Regions from separate parts of the Homo sapiens genome. Here all the other regions are linked to region 1. Evidence: promoter capture Hi-C in 16 types of primary human blood cells and fetal thymus (Javierre and others, 2016). All regions are on one chromosome and are shown on one strand. The core of a region is centred on a gene start or on the middle of the fragment in contact, and the rest is flanking DNA. Distances in the headings are between cores, read along the strand shown.

Evidence for each region. The method cuts DNA at HindIII sites, captures the fragments that hold promoters and counts their contacts. A CHiCAGO score of 5 or more calls a contact.
Region 2: a fragment that was not itself captured here is called in contact with the fragment with the promoter of CPN2 in region 1 in 1 of 17 cell types (total B cells); the score reaches 5.2 in total B cells.
Region 3: a fragment that was not itself captured here is called in contact with the fragment with the promoter of CPN2 in region 1 in 3 of 17 cell types (naive B cells, naive CD4 T cells and endothelial precursors); the score reaches 12.5 in naive B cells.
Region 4: a contact is called between a fragment that was not itself captured here and the fragment with the promoter of CPN2 in region 1, in 4 of 17 cell types (total B cells, naive B cells, naive CD4 T cells and 1 more). The highest score is 8.4, in total B cells.
Region 5: a contact is called between a fragment that was not itself captured here and the fragment with the promoter of CPN2 in region 1, in 1 of 17 cell types (naive B cells). The highest score is 5.4, in naive B cells.
Region 6: a fragment that was not itself captured here is called in contact with the fragment with the promoter of CPN2 in region 1 in 3 of 17 cell types (M1 macrophages, total B cells and naive B cells); the score reaches 9.6 in M1 macrophages.
Region 7: a fragment that was not itself captured here is called in contact with the fragment with the promoter of CPN2 in region 1 in 1 of 17 cell types (M2 macrophages); the score reaches 5.4 in M2 macrophages.

Annotation. Positions count from the first base shown.
Region 1 is chr3:194,349,320-194,353,012 of GRCh38, forward strand. It overlaps CPN2 (carboxypeptidase N subunit 2), which reads right to left and starts at 2,009. Exons shown (of 2, transcript NM_001080513.4): 1 at 1,923-2,009. RefSeq lists an enhancer at 1,485-2,334. The HindIII fragment of the contact is 6,903 bases long and covers 1-3,693 here.
Region 2 is chr3:193,631,628-193,634,127 of GRCh38, forward strand. It overlaps OPA1 (OPA1 mitochondrial dynamin like GTPase), which reads left to right. Exons shown (of 31, transcript NM_130837.3): 8 at 1-38. Among named protein-coding and RNA genes, the nearest start is that of OPA1-AS1, 5.5 kb to the left of the region's middle. The HindIII fragment of the contact is 5,274 bases long and covers 1-2,500 here.
Region 3 is chr3:193,658,525-193,662,217 of GRCh38, forward strand. OPA1 (OPA1 mitochondrial dynamin like GTPase) reads left to right here. Exons shown (of 31, transcript NM_130837.3): 24 at 363-471; 25 at 958-1,037. All of the region lies in intron 4 of LOC102724808 (a long non-coding RNA gene), which reads right to left. Among named protein-coding and RNA genes, the nearest start is that of OPA1-AS1, 33 kb to the left of the region's middle. The HindIII fragment of the contact is 3,578 bases long and covers 212-3,693 here.
Region 4 is chr3:193,674,664-193,678,356 of GRCh38, forward strand. All of the region lies in intron 29 of OPA1 (OPA1 mitochondrial dynamin like GTPase), which reads left to right. It overlaps LOC102724808 (a long non-coding RNA gene), which reads right to left. Exons shown (of 5, transcript XR_924835.3): 2 at 3,191-3,320. Among named protein-coding and RNA genes, the nearest start is that of OPA1-AS1, 49 kb to the left of the region's middle. The HindIII fragment of the contact is 7,050 bases long and covers 1-3,693 here.
Region 5 is chr3:193,704,817-193,708,509 of GRCh38, forward strand. No RefSeq gene overlaps it. Among named protein-coding and RNA genes, the nearest start is that of OPA1-AS1, 79 kb to the left of the region's middle. The HindIII fragment of the contact is 8,669 bases long and covers 1-3,693 here.
Region 6 is chr3:193,723,402-193,727,094 of GRCh38, forward strand. No RefSeq gene overlaps it. Among named protein-coding and RNA genes, the nearest start is that of OPA1-AS1, 98 kb to the left of the region's middle. The HindIII fragment of the contact is 210 bases long and covers 1,950-2,159 here.
Region 7 is chr3:193,754,661-193,758,353 of GRCh38, forward strand. No RefSeq gene overlaps it. Among named protein-coding and RNA genes, the nearest start is that of LINC02038, 88 kb to the right of the region's middle. The HindIII fragment of the contact is 2,229 bases long and covers 490-2,718 here.

The DNA.
Region 1 (3,693 bases), core at 759-3,258:
TATTGCACTCCAGCCTGGGCAACAAGAGAGAAACTCCATCTCAAAAGAAAAAAATTTGTAGTCATTACCTCTGAAAAATTGAATTGTGGATGATTTTAATTTTTTCCTTCTGCTTAAAAATATATGTTCCACATTTTTAAGTAAGAAACATATCACTTTTGCAGTAAGGTTGAAACCTATTTTATTCTAAATATTGAGATAAACATGTAAAATGCACAGCACAGTTCCACACACACAGTAGGGGCTTACTTGACTCTTTCCTTCCTGGCAGTGATGTTGCAAAGGCCCGAGGGAGCTTGTCTATCCTCTGTGTTAGCTTCTGGAAGAGAAGACAGCTGACAGGTTGAACTAAGAGGCCGTTGTGAACTGGGCACTATGCGACCCTCCCAATTTATACCCACCCTCCCAGTCCAGTGCAAGTCACACTTCCCCCATGAAGCCTTCCTGACTACCCTCTTCTTTTTTTTTTTTTTTTTTTTTTTTTTTTTTTTTTTTTTTTGAGACAGAGTTTCACTCTTGTTTCCCAGGCTGGAGTGCAGTGACGCCATCTCTGCTCACTGCAACCTCTGCCTCCCGGGTTCAAGCGATTCTCCTGCCTCAGCCTCCCGAGTAGTTGGGATTACAGGCGCCTGCCACCACATCTGGCTAATTTTTGTATTTTTAGTAGAGATGGGGTTTCACTGTGTTGGCCAGGCTGGTCTCGAACTCCTGACCTCAGGTGATCCGCCTGCCTCGGCCTCCCAAAGTGCTGGGATTACAGGCGTGAGCCACCGCGCTCGGCCCTTTCTTGGGTCCTCGGATCCCTCTTGTACTGTGTTGAATGTTTGGGCTCTTCCGCTCTGTTTTCTAGTCAGTTGCACCCACCCGACTGAGCCCGTGGTACTGCAGTCTTGCTGTGGTGTCTCTGCAAGCAGCTCTGCACCCCAGCACCTGGCTCGGGGCCAGGCACTGAGAAGGCAGTCAGGCCCTGTGTGCTGAATTGAAGGAATGTGTTTGTGGCTTTCAGTGACTTCGCATCTCAGGCCTTACTCTCATCCTGCTTAGTAGCAGGGGAAAGCACTTTAGCTCCGCCAGTGCCCCCAGCTGGGATCAGATTCTGACGCCATCACCTACTAGCGGTGTGGGCTTGTGCAAATCACTCCAACTCTCTAAGCCTCAGGTTTTCCAGACTTAATTATCACCTCTGCCCTCAGAGTTCAAATTAGCACTCCATTGGATGATAAATAGGCTAAATAAGATAGTAAATAGAAAGCCCTTAACACAGCGCCTGGCACATACTGAATGTTCAATAAAAGGTGGCCCCCTGCAGGTTTATTTCACCACAAACTTTATTATATGAGCCAGCACGCTTCTGGGAAGGAAACCAGGAGCTAGTCATCCTTGGGCCTGAGCTGGGTGCTGTGGCATGCGCTTGTAATCCCAGCTACTCAGCAGGCTGAGTGGGAGGATCGCTTGAAGCCAGGAGTTCAAGACCAGCCTGAGCAACATAACAAGACCCCCATCTCAAAAAACAATAATTATATTAATAAATAATTAATAATATTTAGTATTAATATAGGATTAATAAGTAATTAGTAATACTATTTATTATTATTATGCCAAGATGACAAGTATAAACTAGGCAGAACCAGGCCAACCTGGACATCTGGTCACCCTGCTTATCCTCTACTCACTACCAGCCTTGTAGGCCAGGACTGGCAGATCTTCATCTCACAAACCCCCGCCCCACCTTCCTCCTGCCTCTTCCCAGCAGCGCCCTAGCTGAGCACCTCAGGGACTTCTCCTCCCGGGGCAGGGGCCCCCCAGAACCGCAGCCTGCCTGGAGCTGCGGAATGCTCTGAAACGGGGGAGATCGCAAGTTCCCGTTCCTGCCCCCACGTCCCTGCAGACCCTGGAGCCCTTCAGCGACCCCGGGAGCCTACCGTGAGGGCCGAGCGGGTGGCGCCGGGCTGCCCTGTCTTCCTCAGGAGCAGAGAGGAGTCTGGTGTGGCCTGTGGTCAGCTCAATCCAGCCCCAGCGCTGATCAAAGTTCCAGGCAGTGGTTCCTCCCCTCACGTGGCCCCAGCGTCCCAGAATGTCACCAGGGTCACAGGACGGGAGAGGGCCTTGGCAAGGCCTCTGAAGATTACAAAATGACCCTGAACTCCTCCCATGTACAGAGCCCTGCCGGGGCCAAAATCCCACCGAGGTTGCAGGGTTGGCACCTTCAGGACCCCGAGGACACTCAGAAAGCTCTAGAGATTCCCGCAGGCGGCTGGGTTGGTGAGGCCTGGGATGGGGTCCACGCTCACACCCATACCTGTGAGCAGAGGCAGAGGGACTGGGAGCCTGCCTTCAGCCTCAGGCCCCTGCTGGGCTCTCAGCGCCCGGAGGCATTTCAAGAGGGCTGTGGATTTGTTGTTTTGTCTTGTTGTGTTTGTTTGCTTGTTTAATGAATGAACTTTCTAAACCCTTCCTGAATTAGAAGGGGGAAAAGCTATAGGGAGATGAATTGGGGCCCAATATGGAGAGGAGCGCTCACACACTCAGGGCTGGCCGAGGACGAAAGATGCTGCTTTGGAAGGGAGGGATTTTCCCATCTCCGGAGGTGTGGAACCAGGGCTGCAAGACACACGGAGTGTGTGTGTGCTGAGTGCGTGCATCTGGGGGTGTGCATGTAAGTGGGTGTAAATGTGAGTGGCTGTAGGGGGTGTGTGGTGAGTGCATGTGTGGGGGTGTGTTGTGTGTGTAAGTGGGTGTATGTGTGAGTGGGTGTGTGCGCGCGTGGGTAGGGTGTGTGTGTGGTGAGTGCGTGTGTGGGTGCGTGTGTGGGTGTATGTGTGAGTGGGTGTAGGGGTGTGTGTGGTGAGTGCGTGTGTGGGGGTGTGGTATGTAAAGAGGGTGTATATGTGAGTGGGCGTGTGTATGTGAGTGTAGGAGTGTGTGTGGTGAGAGCACATGTGTGATGTGTGTGTAAGTGGGTGTATGTGTGAGTGGGTGTAAAGGTGTGTGTGGTGAGTGCGTGTGTAAGTGGGTGTAGGGGAGTGTTTGGTGAGTGCATGCGTGTGGGTGTGGGGTGTGTGTGTGTAAATGGGTATATGTGTGAATGGGTGTAGCGGTGTGTGTGGTGAGTGCGTGTGTAAGTGGGTGTATGTGTGAATGGGTATGTAAGTGGGTGTAGGGGAGTGTTTGGTGAGTGCGTGCGTGTGGGTGTGGGGGGTGTGAGTGGGTATATGTGTGAATGGGTGTAGGGGTGTGTGTGGTGAGTGCGTGTGTGTAGGTGTGCAGTGTGTGTAAGTGGGTGTATGTGTGAGTGGGTGTGTGTAAGTGGGTGTAGGGGTGTGTGTGGTATAAGTGGGTGTGTATATGCATGAGTATGTCTCGTGTGTGTAGAATGAGAGTGTGTGAGAAAATGTGTGGTAAGTGGGTGTGAGTGTGCAGTGAGTGGGTGTGTGGGTGTATGTGTGTGGTGAGTGGGTGTGTGTGTGCAGTGTGTGGGTGTGTGGTGTGTGTGGTGAATGGGTGGGTGTGCGTGTGTGCAGTAGGTGTGAGTGTGTTGGGGTATGTGTGTGTGTGGTGTGTGGTGAGTGGGTATGTGTGAGTGTGCACTGAGTGAGTGTGAGTGTGAGGATGTATGTGGGTGTGTGGTGAGAGCGTAGGAGTGGGTGTGTGGAGGCGAGCAGGGTGAAGGGGTGACCTGGACGAGCAGTCTAA
Region 2 (2,500 bases), core at 1-2,500, 720 kb before region 1:
AAATTGACCAACTTCAGGAAGAACTTCTGCACACTCAGGTAATCATGATGACTAAGAAAAACTAGGGACTTTTAAAAATTATATTCGAATGTAACTTTGGTGATATGGACATTTATTTTTTCAACAGAGCAAAATTTGGAAGGTGTAATGATAGAACCTTATTATTATCGATAGATGCAAAAGCTAATTGAGAAATAAGGAATAAAGACAGAACTAGATAAGTATGGAGTTAACTCATTTATATGTAAAAACCTATTTTGAGTGAATCTTATGCCCAAAAGGGAGAAAGTGGCTTGTCCTTATATAAACTTATGCTTGCATTTTTACATTGATAAGCTAATACAGTTAAAGAAATTCGAGTTGAGTCTACCACATCGTTCTAGTGGGCTCTCAGGAACCTTTACTTTGCTTCGCAAGTCTGAAAGCAGTCAGACAATGCTTATCTAAAGCTCTTTCTGGCACTACTTAGAAAAGCTATTTTCTTATAGTTGGTGATAAAATTATTACTTTAAGGACCTATTTTGTGCAATGTAATGAGTGGGTAACATTCTAGTACAAAATTACCCTATCACAGCCAGGCACGGTGGCTCACGCCTGTAATCCCAACACTTTGGGAGGCCGAAGTGGGCGGATCACAAGGTCAGGAGATCGAGACCATCCTGGCTAACACAGTGAAACCCCTTCTCTACTAAAAATACAAAAAATTAGCTGGGCGTGGTGGCAGGCGCCTGTAGTCCCAGCTACTCAGGAGGCTGAGGCAGGAGAATGGTGTGAACCCAGGAGGCGGAGCTTGCAGTGAGCCCAGATGGCGCCACTGCACTCCAGCCTGGGCGACAGAGCAAGACTCCATCTCAAAAAGAAAAAAAAGTTACCCTATTACTCAATCATCAGTTTTTCTATATAGGTGACACTGACATGCATTAATTAACTTATTTTTTAAAGTTCAAAGAGTTACTATCAGCTGGGCATGGTGGGTCATGCCTGTAATCCCAGCACTTTGAGAGGCTGAGGCAGGAGGATCGCTTGAGCCCAGGAGTTTGAGACCAGCTTGGGCAACCCGGAGAAACCCCGTATCTATAAAAATTTTTTTAAAAATTAGCCAGGTGTGGTGGTTGTGCCTGTAGTCCCAGCAACTGGGAGGCTAAGGCGGGAGGATCACTTGAGCCCCAGGAGGTCAAGGCTACTGTAAGCCATGATTGCTCCCTGGCCAATAGAGCAAGACCCTGTCTGGAAGAAAACAAAAAAGAATAAGAAAAAGAGTTAATCTTGGATCTCTTTTTTGTGAAAAAGTGAAACGACTACAAGTTGAATATCTCTTATCTGAGGTGCTTGGGGCCAGCGTGTTTTGGATTTCAGATTTTTGAATTAGGGATAATCAGTCAGTAGTATGTTTTGAGTCACAGGTTTCTTTGGTATCTATTTATTGAGTCTCAAACCTCACTATACGCTAGACTCACCTGTGCTCTGAGTGGCACTATATCTATGTTTTTAAGGGTTCCTAGCCAGGTGATTCCAATCTGCAACCAGGGGTAAGAGTCATTGGTCACAAAGCATAGCCTCTGGAGCACATTAGAAATGCACATTCTTGACCCCATCCCATACCTTCTGAAGAATCAGAAACTCTGGGATGAAACTCAGCAATCTGTTTTTAAATGCCCTCAAGATAATTCTGATGCATTCTAAAGTTTGAGAATTATTGTTCTAGAGCTTTGAGAGACAGCTCAATAGCACATCTCTTCAGGATGGCTACAAATTGGCATCTGTACCAAAATGTTTCCATCCCCAGAAAATGTAGACCCCAAAATTGATTTTGTGTTTACAAAGAAATGAGCCAGTGGAAATTCTACCCTCTTATATGCCTTGATACAAACCCTTCAATTTGTGCAATTGTAATTGTCAGTCACTAGGCACTGATAGACTGTATTATGGAGAATTCACTGGGTTATCTATATCAATGATGTCCAATAGAAATATACAAGCCACCTGTGTAATTTTTAATTTTTACATTAAAAAGGGGTAAAAAGAAACGTGGAATTAGTTTTAATAATATATTTAACCCAGTCTATCCCAGATAGTATCATTTCAACATGTGATCAGTATAAAAAATATGAATGAGGTATTTTACACTTACAGCACAACCTCACTTCAGGCCAGCCACATTTCAGGTGCTTGATAACTACATGTGGCTAGTAGCTGCCGTGTTAAACAACACAGATCTAATCCTTAGATACTACCAGAATTTTGTTAAATATACTATTACTAGATATAAATGAGTGAGTTTATGTAAAAATATGTTTATAGTAGAGTCTAGCCAGTAGTTCTGCCTGTCTCATACTATGTAGGTGTTCAATTATGTATGCGTTCTTTTAATTTGGCTTGAGTTGGACTTGCTGTAAGGATAGAACCATGATTTCCTGTTAATTACTTTGTTCTTGAAAGATTCCAATAAGCTAAAAAAATTGTAAGGAATATTTTTTATTATAAAAGGCATATTATAAGT
Region 3 (3,693 bases), core at 751-3,250, 690 kb before region 1:
CGATGAACATGATCTGAATTATTAAACCCTGAATTTTAGGTTTCTAGATGTTGCATTTCATGTAGTTAAATTTGTAATATTTTGTATAATGTAAATGTGTAATATTACCCACGCACCCCATATGGTTAGCTTGTTTAATTTGGGCCAGGAGAGAATCTCCACTCTTTATTTTTTAGATAGCAAGCTAACAAATAAGCAGGCAAGTAAAAGAAGCTTATGCATTTTTATAGGAAGGATATATTTTTATGCTGGTTTATATACATGGTTATTTTTCCATATTTACTAAGCTGTCAATTTGAATAAAACTACTAAAATGATGAGATGTAAAACAAGTTGGCTTTTTCTCTTCTTGTTATTTTCAGAGGGTTATTCAACACAATGCTTTGGAAGACCGATCCATATCTGATAAACAGCAATGGGATGCAGCTATTTATTTTATGGAAGAGGCTCTGCAGGCTCGTCTCAAGGATAGTAAGTGGAGACACGGCTTATTGAGTTCTGAGTTCACAGTGGTGAAGGAGTCATCCAACTTTAGTGAACATTTGTAGAAATAGATTGAACATTTCAAAGTCTTTGTCATTAATACTATAGTCGAATATTATTTGTGGAATTTTTTTAGTCAACTGCTTTGTAACTACTAAAACCAATGAATAAAATGGACACATGATGCTTATATGCATTTATATTCTATAAAGCTATAATGCAGAATATTTTAGTGTGTTCGCTACTGTACTTATAGGAATTTTATAAGCAATTATACTTTTAGGTATCTTAAACACATATATAATTAAACTCTTACACATGTGCCATATCAGTCATGTGGGTTTTTTCCTTTATTTCAACTGCCTTCATATTGATATAGCACTTTGAAATAGTTAAGAAAGCAAGACCATTATTAGTTATAATTTGTGTGTGTGTAAGTGATAAAATTCTTGATTAATTAATTTTTTTTTCTAGCTGAAAATGCAATTGAAAACATGGTGGGTCCAGACTGGAAAAAGAGGTGGTTATACTGGAAGAATCGGACCCAAGAACAGGTAGAAATAAACAAGTCTCTAGTCTTATGATGATATAATTTTGTTCATTTTAATTCAGGCATTAAAATATAACCTTTTTGTGGCTCTAGACCAGTCTCAGGAATATTAAATGTTTTATATCATACTTTCTAAAATATAATGAATCTTTAGAATAAAGAATAAACTACATAAGAAAGTTTTTTTTAAGTGAAGTAGCCATGTTGTTAAAAGACAAGAGATGAAACATGCCCCTTTTGTGGTTGATTACATTGTTCATTTCAATTCCCTGTTTGAGGTAAAAAGGAAGATTAAAGTTATGAACAGGCCAGGCACGGTGTCTCATTCCTGTAATCACAACCCTTTGGGAGGCCAAGTCAGAGGAATCGCTTGAGTTAAGGAGTTCGAGACCAGCCTGGGCAACATAGCAAGACCTCCTCTTTACTAAAAGTCAAAAAAAATTAGCCAGGTGTGGTGGCGCATACCTGTTATCCCAGCTACTAGTGAGGCTGAGGTGGGAAGGATTGCTTGAGCCTGGGAGATCGAAGCTGCAGGGAAAATAACTTGTGAATAGAAAAAAATAGTAAGGTTTTCAGAGGATGTACAATGAATATGATTGGCGGGAAAAGATACAATTTTTCTTGCCTTATTTTATTATCTTATCTATATCTACCATTAAAGTCCCTACCCCTCACCTCCACCCCTGTTCATTCCTTTCCGATTCTTATAGCTTCTTTTCCTATCTAGCATTCAGTCTTATACCACTGTCTCATTCCTTGTTCATTCCTTAAATGAAAGAATCTAAATAGAATATAGAATCTAACTACATAAATTAATGAAATAATGAAGATGAAAAAGATTTAGCATCCAATCCATTTTCTTTTCTTGTTTGCTTTGTTCCTTGAATTCATTTAGAGAAAGGAGATCAAGTAATGGAAAAATAGAGGAGACAAAGGGAATAAAAATTGACCAAATGAGATGTCCCTATTTCTTTATTTTATATTTTCATTTTCATTTTAAATACAGTTAATTGTATAATCTATATCCTATTTTTTTCCTAGTTTCCCACATTTCTTGTTTCATAAGTTCTCTATCAGATGTGAGTCTCAACTTTCCTCAAAATAATGAAGAGACAGTCTTCTTTTTCTCTGTGTTTCTTTACTATTTTTTTTTTTGGTAATGACTTTTGTGAAAAATGAGCCATTAAGAGACTGAAGCAAAGCTGAGGAAGCAGACAGTTAGTGATTGGGTCATGCATGTGTTCAGGGTGCGTTGGTTATCTCTGCTCTACAGATGGGCCGAGAGAAGGAGGTCTGTCAGAAGAGAATTTCTAGAGATCCATCCAAGGTTTCTGACTTTGATAGAGGAAGATGCATTGATTAGAAAGAGCTGCTGTAAGGGAGATAAACTGCAAAAGAAAAATGGTATCTGGCCTTCAAGACTTAGTGATATTAGGCCTAAAGTCTCTAGAACAGTTGGTGGCAGAACTTGCCTCAGCAACTGACTGGTGGTAAATGTGCTTTGGCCAAACACTCTCTGAAAGAAGTGATTCCTGCTCGTAAGTTATTTTTGTCAGGAACTTAAACCCATAGGGGAATCCCTTCAAGAGAAAGAAAGGAATTTGCTTTAAAGTCAGTGCAAAGGGTCTGTAAGCCTAGAAGAGGAATCTGGAAACCCTTTACAGAAGAGCCTTCTCCCCACAGGATTTCAGGGCAGCATGTGTGAGACCCAGGCTGACTGTAGAACAGAGGCCATAATTTGGAATATAGAAGGGAGGGGCATCTGAATCACCCGGGGAGGTGTTTATATATAGTGTTTTGTTTTTTCTTCAAAAGCTAGCCTCATGTCAGACTCATTGAGTCAAGCTCTCCTTCTCTATCCTTTCTATCCCTCCCACTCCCAGTTGAAGACAAGTGTTTTCAACCTCATACCTGGAGGTTACAGTGAGACATGGATTCTAGAAGAGGTTGAGAATATCCCTAGGTCTCACATCGTAAGTTCACTTAGCTGAATGACAGGATTTGGCAGGAAAAGAAACTTAAAGATGAGAAATCCATTCTCTGAAAAGTATTTTGTGCTTTTGTGTTTCTTTTGTTTTCTAGGAAAATTCATCCCTTTGAAACATTCTCGCCTTGTTTAAGCCAAACTAATGGAAATTTTGGTCAGGATAGATCCAAGAGTAGTTCTCTCTTCTAATGGCCAAGTGTGGTGACAGTCAAATGATGGGTAGAAAGGGGGAAGTAAAACATGAGGCAGGATGAGCTTGGGAACACCATTACCAGCGATTTCCTTTCCATCTCAGACTGAATAGTACATGTTTAAGCAAACAGTGAACTTTCTCTTTATCAAATGCTCTTTTTTCTGAAGTATTAGTTTTCAGAGAGTATTAATTAGTAGTTCCATTTACAAGTTAATTGTTTGCATTTATGTGTTAATCTTGTCTACTCAGATTTCATAGCTGTGATAGAGTTTGGGGCAAAAAAAAACACTCAGTTTCGTAGCTGTGGTAGATTTTCTATTCTAGTAATTTATTTAGGGTAATGATTGAATTTAAAGCTAGTTTCTTCTATCATATACAATTTTGAGTGGAGGTTTGAAAAATGACAAGATTAATTTAACACAGTATAAGAATCTTGTTATCAAACATAACTAGTGTAGGTAAGTTTTCCTCCTTTGGTAA
Region 4 (3,693 bases), core at 856-3,355, 670 kb before region 1:
TATTCTTCACATTTAGAAAAGAAAACATCAAGGTACCCTGGAACTTAATTTCTACAGTGACTTCACATTCCGACACTTCTCCCATACCTGCCATACCCTTGAGTGTTGTTACGGATGAGAATATCGTCTGTGAAGTAGTATGAGATGGAAATTTTCCTAGAAAGATTATTGTACTCGGAATTTGGAACTGAAAAGTGTAGAAAGGGGAAGTGATGTGTTTAAAACTGTTTGCGGAGGTGGGGCTCTGCCATGTGTATTTTGACAAAGCTACACAGGTGATTCTTGCCATCCCCGATTACCGTGTACCCGCCTGCCCCTGAGCTGGCACTCCAAAGAGTTCTTTCAGTGCATAGCAAGACAATTTTTCATGCTATTAATTGGGATAAAATTGACATACATTCATTTGTAGAGTCTGAGACACAACGTCACTTTGGAAAATTTGGTGAGCAATTTGAACTGCATCTGCACTGGTGTGTTCTTTTTGTTTCTGTAGACTTAACCAAAGAAAATGAACTTTAAAGGGACTTTAAAGGCATCTGCACTGGTGTGTTCTTTTTGTTTCTGTAGACTTAACCAAAGAAAATGAATTTTAAAGGAAGAGAGGGTGATACCAAGTTGTAGAATTCTAGGTATGTAGGTTCAGAGGAGATTTTTTTTTTTTAAGAAAAAAAAAAAAAAAAAAAAAAACACCCAATCAAGAAGAATAGAGCAGGGTGTCCCGAAGAGAACGTGTGAGCTCGAAGCATCCCGGCAGCATCTTTCATATCTCAGTACTGTTGCTCTGTTTCTTGGGCTCACAACACCATTTCCTCTCTCCTGGCTTTTAACACATCTCGAGGCAACCTTTTCCCTTTCTTTTTATGCACTTCTCTCACTGCGTCTCTTCTATATCATCATCACTTCAACCTAACCCAGTATTTTTATCCCACCTGCTTATTTACCTTCCTTCAGTGACTAAAAACCTTACTCAGATACTGCCAGTGTTGTTTAATTGAGCAGAATAGAGGCTTCTCACTATAGGCAACTGTAAATCAATGAAAATAACCATTTAAAGAAGAAAAACATTTTCATGTCTATCACGGTCGATCCCTTCTGCCAAAGTGATTTGGTTCATTCATAAATTCCCCATACCTCGTGTGTTACATATTGTACTGTACACATTTACTGAATGTTCGATTGTGATCTTGTAATACAGACTGTTCATTAGCCCCCTTCTCTTGACTTAAAAAGTTGGGGGGAACTAACTCTTTTCATCCCAAGGAAACTTTCTTCTACTCTGTCTTGCCAGAAAGTTACTGCTCATTTCTCTTGTAGAGCAGCTTGCCTGTGTGGCATTCACTCCTGTTCTGCCCACTCCCTTCCTAATATCGTGCAGTCTGGCTTTCATCTATATCAAAACCACTTATTGATAGATCACCAATGATTTCCTAATGCCAGTCTACCCAGTTCACCAGGAAACTTTAATAACTTTTTATGTTTATTAGGAATTTTTAAGTTCATTGGAATACATTCAAGTACTTTTTGGAATGATTATATGATGTAGAAATGTGTATGTTTGAGAGACAGAAAAATTGATTTTTTTTTCCTCTTCACTACAGAATAAATAATGTATTTGTTTTATGGTAGCAATACTTGAACTCTTTAAGGCATCTTTTCATGGTAAATCTGGCAATTTTAAAAATCTGGGCTTTGTAAAATAATTTTTTTTATAGTAAGGCAGTTAACACATTAAAGCAACTAGGAAAGATAGTGAAGAATTATTTTTACCTTGAGTCTGTATAGATGAAGTAGGCTCTGCTTTGTGTTGGAACAGAACAAACAAACAAAAAAACCTGAGTTGATACAAAGATAAAGTAATCCTCAAGGAAAGTCCTCTCTGTTAGAGAAGTGGTTATTTACACACAGAATTCCACATGACAACGCCTGAGTGGTGTGGTTTCCAGGTTATTGATGAGAAAATCGAGACTCAAAATGGGTCTTTTAGAATGAAGTACATTTTTCATGGCCTAAGTCTGTCTTTAAAAGTCACCGTTGTGGCCGGGTGTGGTGGCTCACGCCTGTAATCCCAGCACTTTAGGAGGCCAAGGTGGGCGGATCACAAGGTCAGGAGATCCAGACCATCCTGGCTAACACAGTGAAACCCCGTCTCTACTAAAAATACAAAAAATTTAGCCAGGCGTGGTGGCGGGCGCCTGTAGTCCCAGCTGCTGGGGAGGCTGAGGCAGGAGAATGGCGTGAACCTGGGAGGCGGAGCTTGCGGTGAGCCGAGATCGCGCCACTGCACTCCAGCCTGGGTGACAGAGCAAGACTCGTCTCAAAAAAAAAAAAAAAAAAAAAAAAAGTCACTGTTGAAGAATATCAATAAATTAGTACAAGCGTAAAAGAACATTTTCTTTTCTATAATATTATACATGCTGCTGGTAATCAACACTTTACTAGCAAGTATATTCTTTTGCTTTAAACTCAAGTTTTAACTGATTAAGAATAAAGACAAGAATGTTCTCTACAATAATGTATGGATTGAATTTGCCATTTATCATTTTAATGTAGGTTTTACTTATATACTATTGTGAAAATACTCTTAATGTATTCAAAAGGCCAGTGCACAATTTTTTTTTCTTTTACTTCTTTTTTTTTTTTTTTTTTCTTTAGAAAGAGTGTCACTTGCTGCCCAGGCTAGAGTGCAGTGGTGTGATCATGGCTCACTGCAGCCTTGAACTCCTGGGCTCAAGTGATCTAATACCTTTAAAGTTGGGAATAAACTTTATCTTAAGCGTTTTTATTTTTAAATTATGTTTTTGCATATTTGATAGAAAAAGTAGAATGTAGTAATTGAAAACCTAATCACAAAACAATTCATTGGACTCTGCAACAGTATATAAAAAATAAAATTAAACGAGATAGGAAATCTTAAGGGATTGGTGGATTGATGCACATGAAACTGGTAACCTCTGTTAAGTACAGTTCTCCAGGTAGTTGGAGAAATTAGTTAAATGTGAAGAGAATTTTAATTTTGCACTATTTTGTACATTTCTAAACTGTGTCTCCCACAGCCCTTCTCCCCCAGTGAGCACGATTCAGAATTACTTTGAAATGTTGTAGTCTTAATTATCCTATTCATGGAAATGACGAAGCTAATACACGATGTGCTCTATCTTAAAAGTAACAGATATTTTCCCAAGTAACCTACTGCTGGTTGTGATGCTGAGGGACATTTCATGGGACTGCATGGTCGTTGCTCATCGTGATACCATCCTCAGTGGTTGGGGGATTCACAGTGAATTCTCATATCCTGTAACTATGCATCATGGATCTATCATCTGAAAATAAATCAAAATCTTTGTTGAACTCACAGTTTCCACACTTGTATCACCCATTTAAGATTGTTTCATTGTTACCTCCTGTGTACAGAATATTTCATTTCAATTTCTCTTAGAACAGCTCATTCATCTATTCTCTAGTTTCAATATTCTGAGCAGTAGAAGTTTGCTGTTTTGATTAACTTCAGTTAGATCTCTTTTCTGGGCCAAGAATTAAAGCCATTTTATCTTTAGTCTCTCCTTTTGTTGGCACTGCTTCATAGACTGTGTCATATATACAGATCTGTCTTTAGACTGATCTTTACCAAAGTACACTACTGGAATTTGAGGGTTTTTTTTTTTAACATCCTTTTCATTATGAGAGAGCTAGTGT
Region 5 (3,693 bases), core at 866-3,365, 640 kb before region 1:
TTGTGACAGACACTGTGATATACCTAGTTGCACAAGACAAAAACCTGGGACCCTCTCCCCAGTGCAACCAACAAATCCAATCACCACTTTTTTTTTTTTTTGAGACAGAGTCTCACTCAGTTGCCCAGGCTGGAGTGCAGTGGCACGATCTCAGCTCACTGCAACCTCCGCCTCCCAGGTTCAAGCGATTCTCCTGCCTTAGTGTCCGGAGTAGCTGGGACTACAGGTGTGCACCACTACGCCCAGCTAATTTTTTTTTTTTTTTTTTTTTTTGGTATTTTTAGTAGAGACAGGGTTTCACCACGTTGGCCAGGCTGGTCTCGAACTCCTGATCTCAGGCTATCCACCCACCTCGGCCTCCCAGAGCACTGGGATTACAAGCGTAAGTCACCACGCCCGACCCACCAGTTTAATATATTTGTACCCCTCCACTCTTTCCCATCCTGTCTGCACAGATCAGGTGGCCCCCCATGTCTCACCTTTGTTGTTGCCATGGGCCTTCATTTTCATCTCCTGTTCATCCCCCACACTCCTGCCAGAATGAAATATCTAAAATGGGAACATGATCATTTGATGAAAATCTGTCTCCAGGTAGCTTTATTTCTCCATTGATAAAATAAGAGGGTTTGGTTGGATGTTCATTCAGCGTTCTTCTAATGCTGACATTTGTGAAAACTTTAATTCTGTTTTATATAAAACTGCCCTTAATTGGCATAGAGCTTTTTTATCTCATTTAATCTTTAAAATATGTCCACAAGGTAAATAAGATATTCGTTGTGATGGAATAAATCGAACTGATTATTGTATTATTTTAAACATTTAATTAAATAGTTTGATTCTGGCACTAAACTTCTGAAGTATTTATTACAGAGCTTTACTAAAGATATAAAACACTTCCAGGGGAAAATCTTTGCCTTTTTTGGCATCTGGAGAGTTTCTCCATGAGGAAATTGCCTTCTTAGATGCCAGTGCTTACTCTGCACCAGCAGTTGGTAGAGTGTGGTCTTTGGGTCCCTGGGGGTCCTGAAGATTATTTCCATGGTCCACAAGGTCACCATGATTTTGATAATAATACTAATATTTGCCCTTTTCACTGTGCTGACATTCACTGGTTGTAGAAAAACCACAGCACACCACACTGGAGCCTCGGCATGAATCAAGGCAACGGCACTGCCGGTCCTAACAGGCACTATGTCATCTTCACTGCCGTGCACTCCCCTTTTTTCCAAAAAAAACACAGAAGCCTGGTACACAGAAAACATGTGCATATAAAGGATATTGGTGATCTTGAGGAAAAGTACTTGTATAATTGTTTAATTGGTGACGTAAATTACCACTTTTTTTTCAAGGAACACCATTTTGCTTAAAAGAATCACTGACAAACTACATAAGTCAGACTTGGTCACCTGGCAGCCATTTTCTCAAACTAAGCGGAGTGAGCCAGCCACTTCAAGGAAAACCACTTCTGTGCATTTATTGCCAATGATACAAATTACACATCTAAGCAAAAATGAACATTTTGAAAAACTTATATTGAGCTTGTCATTGAGCTTGACAGCTTTTCAGTGTATGTATTTCTGATGAGATAATGATATTAGTGGATGTGATTTTTGGATATTGTAAAGTGCGAAGTGTCAACAGTTGGAGGATCTGCATAACCGTGGGAACTGGTATTTCTCGAATGGTTAATGCGTTGTGGTAACAAATCAGGCATGGGTAAAGATGCCTACAAAATGGGAGCTGGACCAGAGGAGTTTAGGTCACAGAATATGGAGAAGTTCATTGATATGGTTTCGGATGCCACATTACAACTAACCTTTTTTAAGTGTGGGTGCAGTATCAGAGAAGACTCACAATTACCTGAAATGGCTCTTACATTCTTCTCTTTTTCAATTCCGTAACTGTGTGAGGCCAGGTTTTCTATATCTGTGTCAGCCAAAACAGCATATCACAATAGATTGAATGCAGAAGCAGGTAAGATAATCCGGTTATCTGCTATCAAGCCAGACATTAAAAAGAATTGCAAAAATGAAAGATGGTACTACTCTTGTTGCTATATTTGTTTTTCATCAGAAATGTTATTTATGTTAACATGTAATTGTTTTATTTTTTAAATAAATTGAGTAATATTTCTCAGTTATAATTTCTTTTTTCTTTTTCTTTTTTTTTCTTTTTTTTTTTTTTTTGAGACAGAGTTTCACTCTTGTCACCCACCCAGGCTGGAGTGCAGGGGCATGATCTTGGCTCACTGCAATCTCCACCTCCCAGGTTCAAGTGATTCTCCTGCCTCAGCCTCCCCAGTAGCTGGGACTACAGGCGCATGCCACCACACCCGGCTAACTTTTGTATTTTTAGTAGAGATGGGGTTTCACCATGTTGGCCAGGCTGTTCCCGAACTCCTGACCTCAAGTGATCCACCCGCCCCTGCCTCCCAAAGTGCTGGGGTTACAGGCATGAGCCACTGCACCCAGCCAGTTCTAATTTCTAATATAATAAATATCAACAGACATAACCTACACAAAAACTCCTGGGGTACTCAATAATTCTCAAGACATTAAACATTTGTCAATCACTGCTTTGTACTATGAGGCTTAGCTATAGGATCAGACCCTTTGTTTAAAATATCTGAAGCTCTGCACCATCCATGAAAATTACCTGTTGGCTTCTTTACCTGAAATCGGGATATATTTTATGTCAATGGCAAGTGCCAGAAGCCAGGCCAGCAAATGGCAGTGATACCTGGTATATTGGTTGCATGTCCAAATCAGCTGTACGACTCCACCGGACCTGTTCTCCCTAAGGACATGGTGGTGTCCATGTCATTACATTCATCGGATAGTTTTCAGGCCATATCTCACTTCACCCATTACTATATTCTGTAGCGTTGACCACTTCATCTTTGAAGTACTTGCTTCTCTTGGCTTCCATTACAGCACACACTTCTGATTTTCCTCCTACCTTCCTGGCTGTTCTTCCTCCTACCTTCCTGGCTGTTCTTCCTCCTCAGTGCTCTGTTCTGGTGCTCTTCCAACCGATATTCTCTTCCTAGATTTTATCCACTCCCATAGCCTCAACTCTCATTTAATCGCCAGTGCTTCCCGATGCCTATTCAACATTATCACTTGTACTTTTCAAAGATACCTTATAGCTAAAGTCATTATAATTCTTGCCCACCTGTACTCACTTCACTCTGCTCTGTTTCACTAAATGGGAATATCATTTACATCATTTACCTTTTTGCTCAAACCAAAAACTAGGGGTCACCCTTGACTCTTCCCCCAACCCCATGTCCACATCAAATCTCCACCATGGCCTATTAATTAGACACCCAAGCATCTCAAATCCATCCATGCCTTTCCGTCCACACTGTCACCATCTTGGCCCTAGTCATAATCTGCAGGGCCTCCTGACTCATTTGCTCTCTTGCTTTCCTCTGGCTTAGCCTCTGTATTATAGCCAGATCCTAGATGATTGTTATTCTTCTGCTTAAAGCCATGGTATGGATTGGCACTGTCCTGATAATGTTCAGAGTCATCAAGGGTTTTCAGGGCCCAGTGAGATCTGCCCCTGCCTTCTCCAGCCTCCTTTTTCCCTGTGCTTCAGACACTTGAGCTTTCGGGTCTATAAATACACTCTATGCTACCCTGGGCTTTTGTACGTCCTCTTCTCAACCCCGAACTCCCATCTGCCTAG
Region 6 (3,693 bases), core at 805-3,304, 630 kb before region 1:
TTGTGACGGCAGTTAGTGAGTGTTGCAGGGGAGGAACTGCATGCTTAGATATGTGTGTTTTTCCGATTCATTAAAAAATGAAGATGAAAGAGGGCCAGAGAGAGATAGCATGGAGGATACATTTTGAAGGTTCAATCAAGTAAACATCAAATGAGGAAAAAGTGATAGCTTCAAGTGTTGAATACAACCCAGAACTGTCCAGTGGGAAATCCCAGCTGGAGGCTGGGACACCATTTATGACCCAGCTAATTCCTTTAGATGTAGTGGTCCAAGAATTACAGACAACTTGGTTCAAGTTTTTACTAATGAGATTTTAAATGAAATTCTGTAACCTGTGAGTCTTGGTTTCTTTGTTTTAAAAAATGGTAAGAATAATACCCAAATCATAACTTTGTAGTAAGCACTAAATATGATAGCATGTAATAGACTATGAATGTCATTAATATCCAGCATGTTTTTTTAAAGTAGAAATTGACAAACTGATTCTAAAACTCATATGGCAATACAAAGGACCTAGAAAGTAAACAAAACAAAATAAAACTTTGCAAAAGAAGAACAAACTAGAATGAGATTAACACAACCTGATAAACTTATATAAGTTATTATATATAACTTATTATATGAAGTTATATAATGTAGAGTAATCAGAAAAGTATAATTTGGCATAATGACAGACAAATAGATCAATGGAACAGAATATAGAGTACAGAATTAGATCCACACATACATGGACACCAGATTTTTCACAAAAGTTCAAGGGCAATTTAGTGGAGAAAGGGTAGTTTTTCAACAAATGGTGCTGAAGCAATTGGACATCTATACGCTCAATGAACTTTGATTCACTATCACACCATACACATCAGTTCACATATGTATACATACATAGTTATATACATATATTATAAGTTAATGTGAAATGAAGTATAGAGCTAAATGTTAAAACTATAATGATAAAACTAAAAAAAAAAAGAAACAGGAAAAAAACTCTGCATCCTTGGGTTAAACAAACATTTCTTAGATACAACAACTAAAGCACCATCCATAATAGCACAAATGATAAAATGGATATCATCAAAATCAAACTTCTGTCTTTCAAAGGATACTTCTAAGAGAATTCATAGGCAACACACGGAATGGGAGAAAATATATGCAAATCCTGTGTCTGATAAAGAACTTGTATTCAGAATATATAAAGAACTCTCAAAACTCAATCATAAGAAATCAAACAACCCAATTTAAAACACACGGGTGATGCTTTATACTCCAGAAAGTATGATTTAAAGGCACAAGATCATGGCCCTTGTCACAGCCATTGAATGTGCATTGAGATGGTTTTTTTTAATTTCTTAGACAAGTTCTTACTCTGTCATCCAGGATGGTGTGCAGTGATACCATCATAGCTCACTGCAGCCTCAAACTCCTGAACTCAAGCGATCCTCCCTCCTCAGCCTCCTGAGTATCTGGGACCATAGGTGCTTGCCACCACGCCTGGCTAATTTTTTTTATTGTTGTTGTAACAGTTTTGTGTAGACAGGGTCTCACTGTGTTGTCCAGGCTGGTCTCAAACTCCTGGGCTCAACCAGTCCTTCTGCCTCGGTCTCCTGAAGTGCTGGGATTACAGTGAAATTCTTTTCTATAATTTTTAAAAATTATAATTGAAAAATAAGTAAGCTGTTGTAACATGTAAGGTCGTGACAATTTTTGTAGTTGTATTTGAAATCAGATTTCTATAACCTGCATTTGTATACAGAATTCTCAGTGGCTTTATATATTGTGAAATTTTTATCTAAGGTTGAGGTGTGGATTATGCTTAAGAGTAAAAACTGAAATGAGACGATTTACTTTGCTTACAATGCTATGCTGTACAACTTGAGAATTGTATATTAATTTACCATGTATAATGAACTGAAACTGTTTATACCTCCAAGTTTTTACACTGAAGATTAACAAGCTTTTTTAAATTCAAAACTTTTTATTTTCTTATTAAGGGAATAAGCCGTTCAGCTCAATCTGCATATGTGTGCTTTTTATTTTCTTATTAAGGGAATAAACCGTTCAGTTCAATCTGCATATGTGTGCTTTTTATTTTCTTATTAAGGGAATAAGCCGTTCAGCTCAATCTGCATATGTGTGCTTTTTATTTTCTGGATGCACAGTGAAGCTTTATGCTTGTATCTCACTGCATTCTATCTGATTGCAGAAACTAAAGCACAATTTACAAGCACAGAAACAAAACAAAACAAAAAATGTAGGCGATAGATTTGAATAGACGTTTTGCTAAAGGAGATCTACAATAACAAGCAAGCACCTGAAAAGATGACATGCCACTACACACCTATTAGGACTAAAAGACCGACCATACCAAGTGTTGACAAAGATATGGAGTAACAGGAATCTTCATACACTCTTGGTGGAAATGTGAGATGGTATAACCACTTTGGAACACAATTGGAAGTTTCCTAAAACATCGAATACAAAACTATCATATGATCCAGCCATTTCATTCCTGTCTACCCAAGAGAAATGAAAGCATGTGTTTTATACAAAGATGTGTACACAAATGTGCGCAGCAGCTTTGTTTGTAACAGCTAAAAACTAGACATATCCCAAATGTCTAGCAAGAGAGAAACAGATAAACAAACTGGTATATTCATACAGTGGAACACTATTTGGCTATCAAACGAAATGGACCAGCCAGGTGCGGTGGCTCACGCCTATAATCCCAGCACTTTGGGAGGCGGAGGTGGGCAGATGGCTTGAGCTCAGGAGTTCGAGACCAGCCTGGGCAATATGGCAAAACACTATCTCTACAAAAAAATACAAAAAAAGAAATTAGCCAGATGTGGTGGTGCAGGCCTGTAGTCTCAGCTACTGGGGAGGCTGAGGTGGGATGATCACTTGACCCTGGGAGGCTGAGGCTGCAGTGAACCAAGATCACACCACTGCACTTCAGCCTGGGTGACAAAGTGACAACCTGTCTTTAAAAGAAAAAGAAAAAGAAAAAGAAAGTGGACCACTGAGACATGTAACAACATGGGTGAATCTCAAAATGATTATGCTAAGTAAAAGAAGCCACATTTTTTTTTAAAAGAGTACATACTATATGGTTCTAGGAACCATACATTGTAGGAAGTGCAAGCTGATAAATGGCGATAGTAGATCCGTGGTTGCCTGAATACAGGATGAAGGTATTACGGGGACACGAGACAAATTTGGGGGCGACAGATATGTTCATTGTCTTGTTTGTGATGATAGTTTCACAGATGCGGGAACTTATTAATTGTATGCTTTAAATATGTATAGTACGTTGTACATCAGTTATACTTCCGTAAAGAAAAAAATATGAAAATTTGGGCATCTATGTTGTACAGATATAGATTCAATTCCCATATTTAAGTCCCAGCGTCACCACTTATATTCTATATAAGCTTAGACAAGTCACTCAATCCCTCTGAATCTCAGCAGTCTCGTCTGTAAAATGAAGATGATAATATTCCTATCTTCCTTGGAAGATTATTATGAACACAGAACAAAATAATATTTATATAATGCTTAATAGCATGCTTAGGACATAGTATGTGCTTAACAAAAATTATTATTAAAGTGCTTCCCACTGCACCTGATATTAGCTTAATGCTCAGTAACGTTTTACCCCATCTCCACCCTTACTTTCCCTACTAAACTTGATGTGTG
Region 7 (3,693 bases), core at 354-2,853, 600 kb before region 1:
AAAAGAAAAAAAACATTAAATAGGAAGCAGGGCACAAAAGTTTGGAAAATTTGCAGCCTGATGATGAGATAGAAAAGAAAATCCATTTTCTGGGGAGTAATTCAAGCTGGCTGCAGAAATTTGCCACAAGTAATGAGCAGCTTTACATTAATCACCAAGACAATGAGGAAAATATCTCCAGGGCATGTCAGATAACTTCATGGCAGCCCCTCTCATCACAGGCTCAGAGGCCTAAGAGGGAAAAATGGTTTCATGAGCCTGGCCCAGGACATCACTGCTGTGTGCAGCCTAGGGACTTGCTGCCCTGTGTCCCAGCTGCTTCAGCCTCACCTATGGCTAAAAGGGGCCAAGGCACAGCTCAAGCCCTTGCTTCAGAGTATGCAAGCCCCAAGCCTTGGTAGCTTCCACATGGTGTTGAGCCTGTGGGTGCACAGAAGTCAAGAATTGAAGTTTGGGAACCTCTTCTTGATTTCAAAGGATATGTGGAAAAGCTTGGATGTCCAGGCAGATGTCTGCTGCAGGGGCCCTCATGGAGAACCTCTGCTAGGGAAGTGTGGAAGGGAAAGTGGGGTTGGAGCCCTGGCACAGAGTCCCCACTGGGACACTGCCTAGTGGAGCTGTGAGAAGAGGGCCACTGTCCTCCAGACCCCAGAATGGTAGATCCACCAACAGCTTGCACCATGTGCTTGGAAAAGCTGCACTCAATGCCAGCCCATGAAAGCAGTCATGAGGGGGCCTGGATCCTGCAAAGCCACAGGGGCAGAGCTGCTCAAGGCCATGGGAGTCTCCTTCTTGCATCAGCATGACTTGGTTGTGAGACATGAAGTCAAAGGAGATCATTTTGGAACTTTAAGATTCAATGACTGCCCTACTGGATTTCGAATTCACTATACATGTTTGTTTTTTTTTTTTAGTAATTTCTCTAGGGTTTACAATAAATATGTTTAATTTCTCACAGTCTACTTTCAACTTGTATTTTACTACCTTATGTATTATGTAAAAACTTTATAGCAATACACCTGCATTTTTCTTCTTCCATTCTTTGCACTTAGTTGATATACATTCTATTTTGTTAAATATTATAAACTCCACAATATTGTTTCAACAGCCAATGATCTTTTAAGTAAATTAAACAAAAGTAAATAAATCCCTTTATATTTATTTACATAATTGTTATTTATGACATTTTAAATTTCTTTGCTTAGATCTGAGTTTCTATCTTTTACTTTTATCCTCCTGCATAAAGTACTTTCTTTAATATTTTTCATAGCACATTTCTGCTGATAAGTTTGCTCAGATTTTGTTTGGTGAATGTTGTTATTTTGCCTTTAGTTTTGATATTTTTGCTAGATGTAGACTTCAGAGCTGAGAGAGTATTATTTTCTCATTGTTGTTTTCCTTCTGTACTTTAAAATCCATTTTATTGATTCCGGGCCTTCATTGTTTCTGAAGAGTTCAGCTGTCATTCATATCATTGTTTGCCTTGTATGTAATCTGCTTTTGTCCTCTAGCTACTTTTAAATTTTTTCTCTGTATTGTTCATTTTCAAGTTTGACCATCCCATGCCTGAATGTAGATCTATGTGTATTTATGTGTATACCATGTGTATTTGTGATTCAATGTGTTTACTGAGCATTTTTGATTGGTATTTTAATGGTTTTCACTAACTCTGGGAAATTTTCTAGCCATCACTTCTTTAAATATTTTTTTTCTGTTCCATTTCTCATCTCTTCCCCTCTGACACCTTAATTTCACATATGTCAGACTGCCTGGTATTTCCCTACACATCATGGAGAATCTGTTTAATCTTTTTTATCTCTTTAAACTGTTTCAAGTTGAACAATCTCAAAAGGCCTATTTTCAAGTTCATTAACCCATTCTCATGTAGTCTGCAATCTGCTATTAAGCTCATCTAGTAGAATTTTTAATTCTACACATTTTTCTTTGCGGTTTTGGTAATTCTGTTTGGTTCTTTTTTATTGTTTCCATTTCTCTGCTGAGATTTCCTATATTTTTATTTAAATCACTGAATGTGTTAATAACTTTTACATTTGAAGTCTGGTCTGTTAATTCTAACACCTGGAGCATCTCAGGGTCTATTTCTATTGATTGATTTTTTTTTTCTTGAATTTAACTGGGTCACATTTTCCTATATCTTCATGTCTGATAATTTTTTATTGTTTGTTCTCTGACATGGATAATATAGGGAGTCCAGATTTTGTCACCTTCTTTTAAAGGACATTGAATTTTGTTCTTGAAGGCAGTTAAGTGTTTGGAATATAATTTTGGTCCTGTTAGAGTTGTTTCTTTTTCTTTGTGAAAGTGGGCGTATTTTTTTTTATTCCATTTCCCCTCTAATCCCTGCATTGTTGAAGGGATCTATTTTTGTATTGAGCTTAGGTTTAGAGCTGGCCCTTACTATACAGCATGGTTCTTCATCTCAAGGCATAACCTTTTTAGAATCTCAACTGAATCTTCAAAATGTTCTGCTTGGGACAGAAGTCCAACGTCTCTCAGCAAAGCAGGACTTCTGGTTTCTCTGTTCAGCTCCCAGTCCTGCAGCATGTGACCCTTGCTAGGCCTTGTGTATGGGCAGCTGAGTTCTCAGCCACAGACCCACAGTCCATCCCCATGCAGACTTCAGTGGCCTGATTTTCTGTGCAGTATCTTCTTTTCTGATATCCCACCCCACAAATTTCAGCCATGTCTATATCCCAAAGCTTCAATCTCTGCCTCCTTAGCTCTTTTTATTGCAGCAGGAGAATTTCCTTGGGAAAAAAACTGGGGTGACCATGGAACTCACGTCATATAGTTCACTTGTCTCCCAAATCACATTCCCCTATTGCCTATTGCTCCGTGTCTGAAAACATTTGCCTCATGTGTTTTTCCCCATTTGTAGTTGTTTTAAGTGAAGGCAAGTTATGTACCAGTTACTATGTCAGGATCAGACACAGAAATCCCCATGTGTTTTTAATTCTTTGCAAGATTAGTCTTCCTGATGATGCAGAGTGGTAGGATCCAATTTCTCTTAAACCATTGTAATATTCTTTAACAAGACCCCTTTGCTTAAAGCAAGGAAGTCATGTGTCACTCAACCTTGGCTGACTGAATGATTTAACTGAGAAAGTTTATAGGGATTAACTAGAAACTGGCCAACATGTACTATAAAAAAAGAAATGGTTGCTTTATTACTAAACACAATCTTTTCTGACTGCAAACTCCCAAAAAGGGAGATGTTCAGCATTGGGCAGACTTATTCTACTAATTTTCTCTCTTACACCCAGGAAATAAACGTGGTGTTGGACTGCATGGAACCACTGTTTTCCACTATACTCATCACCTTCTGCTGAATCTCTCTTTCTAGGTTAACAGAAAATTGGGCTCCATGTGAAACCTGTAAGCACTGAATGTACTTGCAAAAACCTATCTTAGCATAAGTTGTCACTTTGTCACTGCCCAGTGTAAATTAGTCTCATGTGTTATTCTTGCCTTCAGCTCCCTCTTCTTTTACTTCAGAGCTCTTAAAATTATTTGTAATTACACATATATGTATTGCTCATTTTTAGCCTCTCCCAGTAGATTATAAGCTCTGTGAGGGCAAAAACCTTGTGTGAAGCCCCAGTCTAGCATAGTGACTGATAAATAGGAGGAGCCAAGAATAATTTGTTGAATGAATGATTAAATGAATGAATC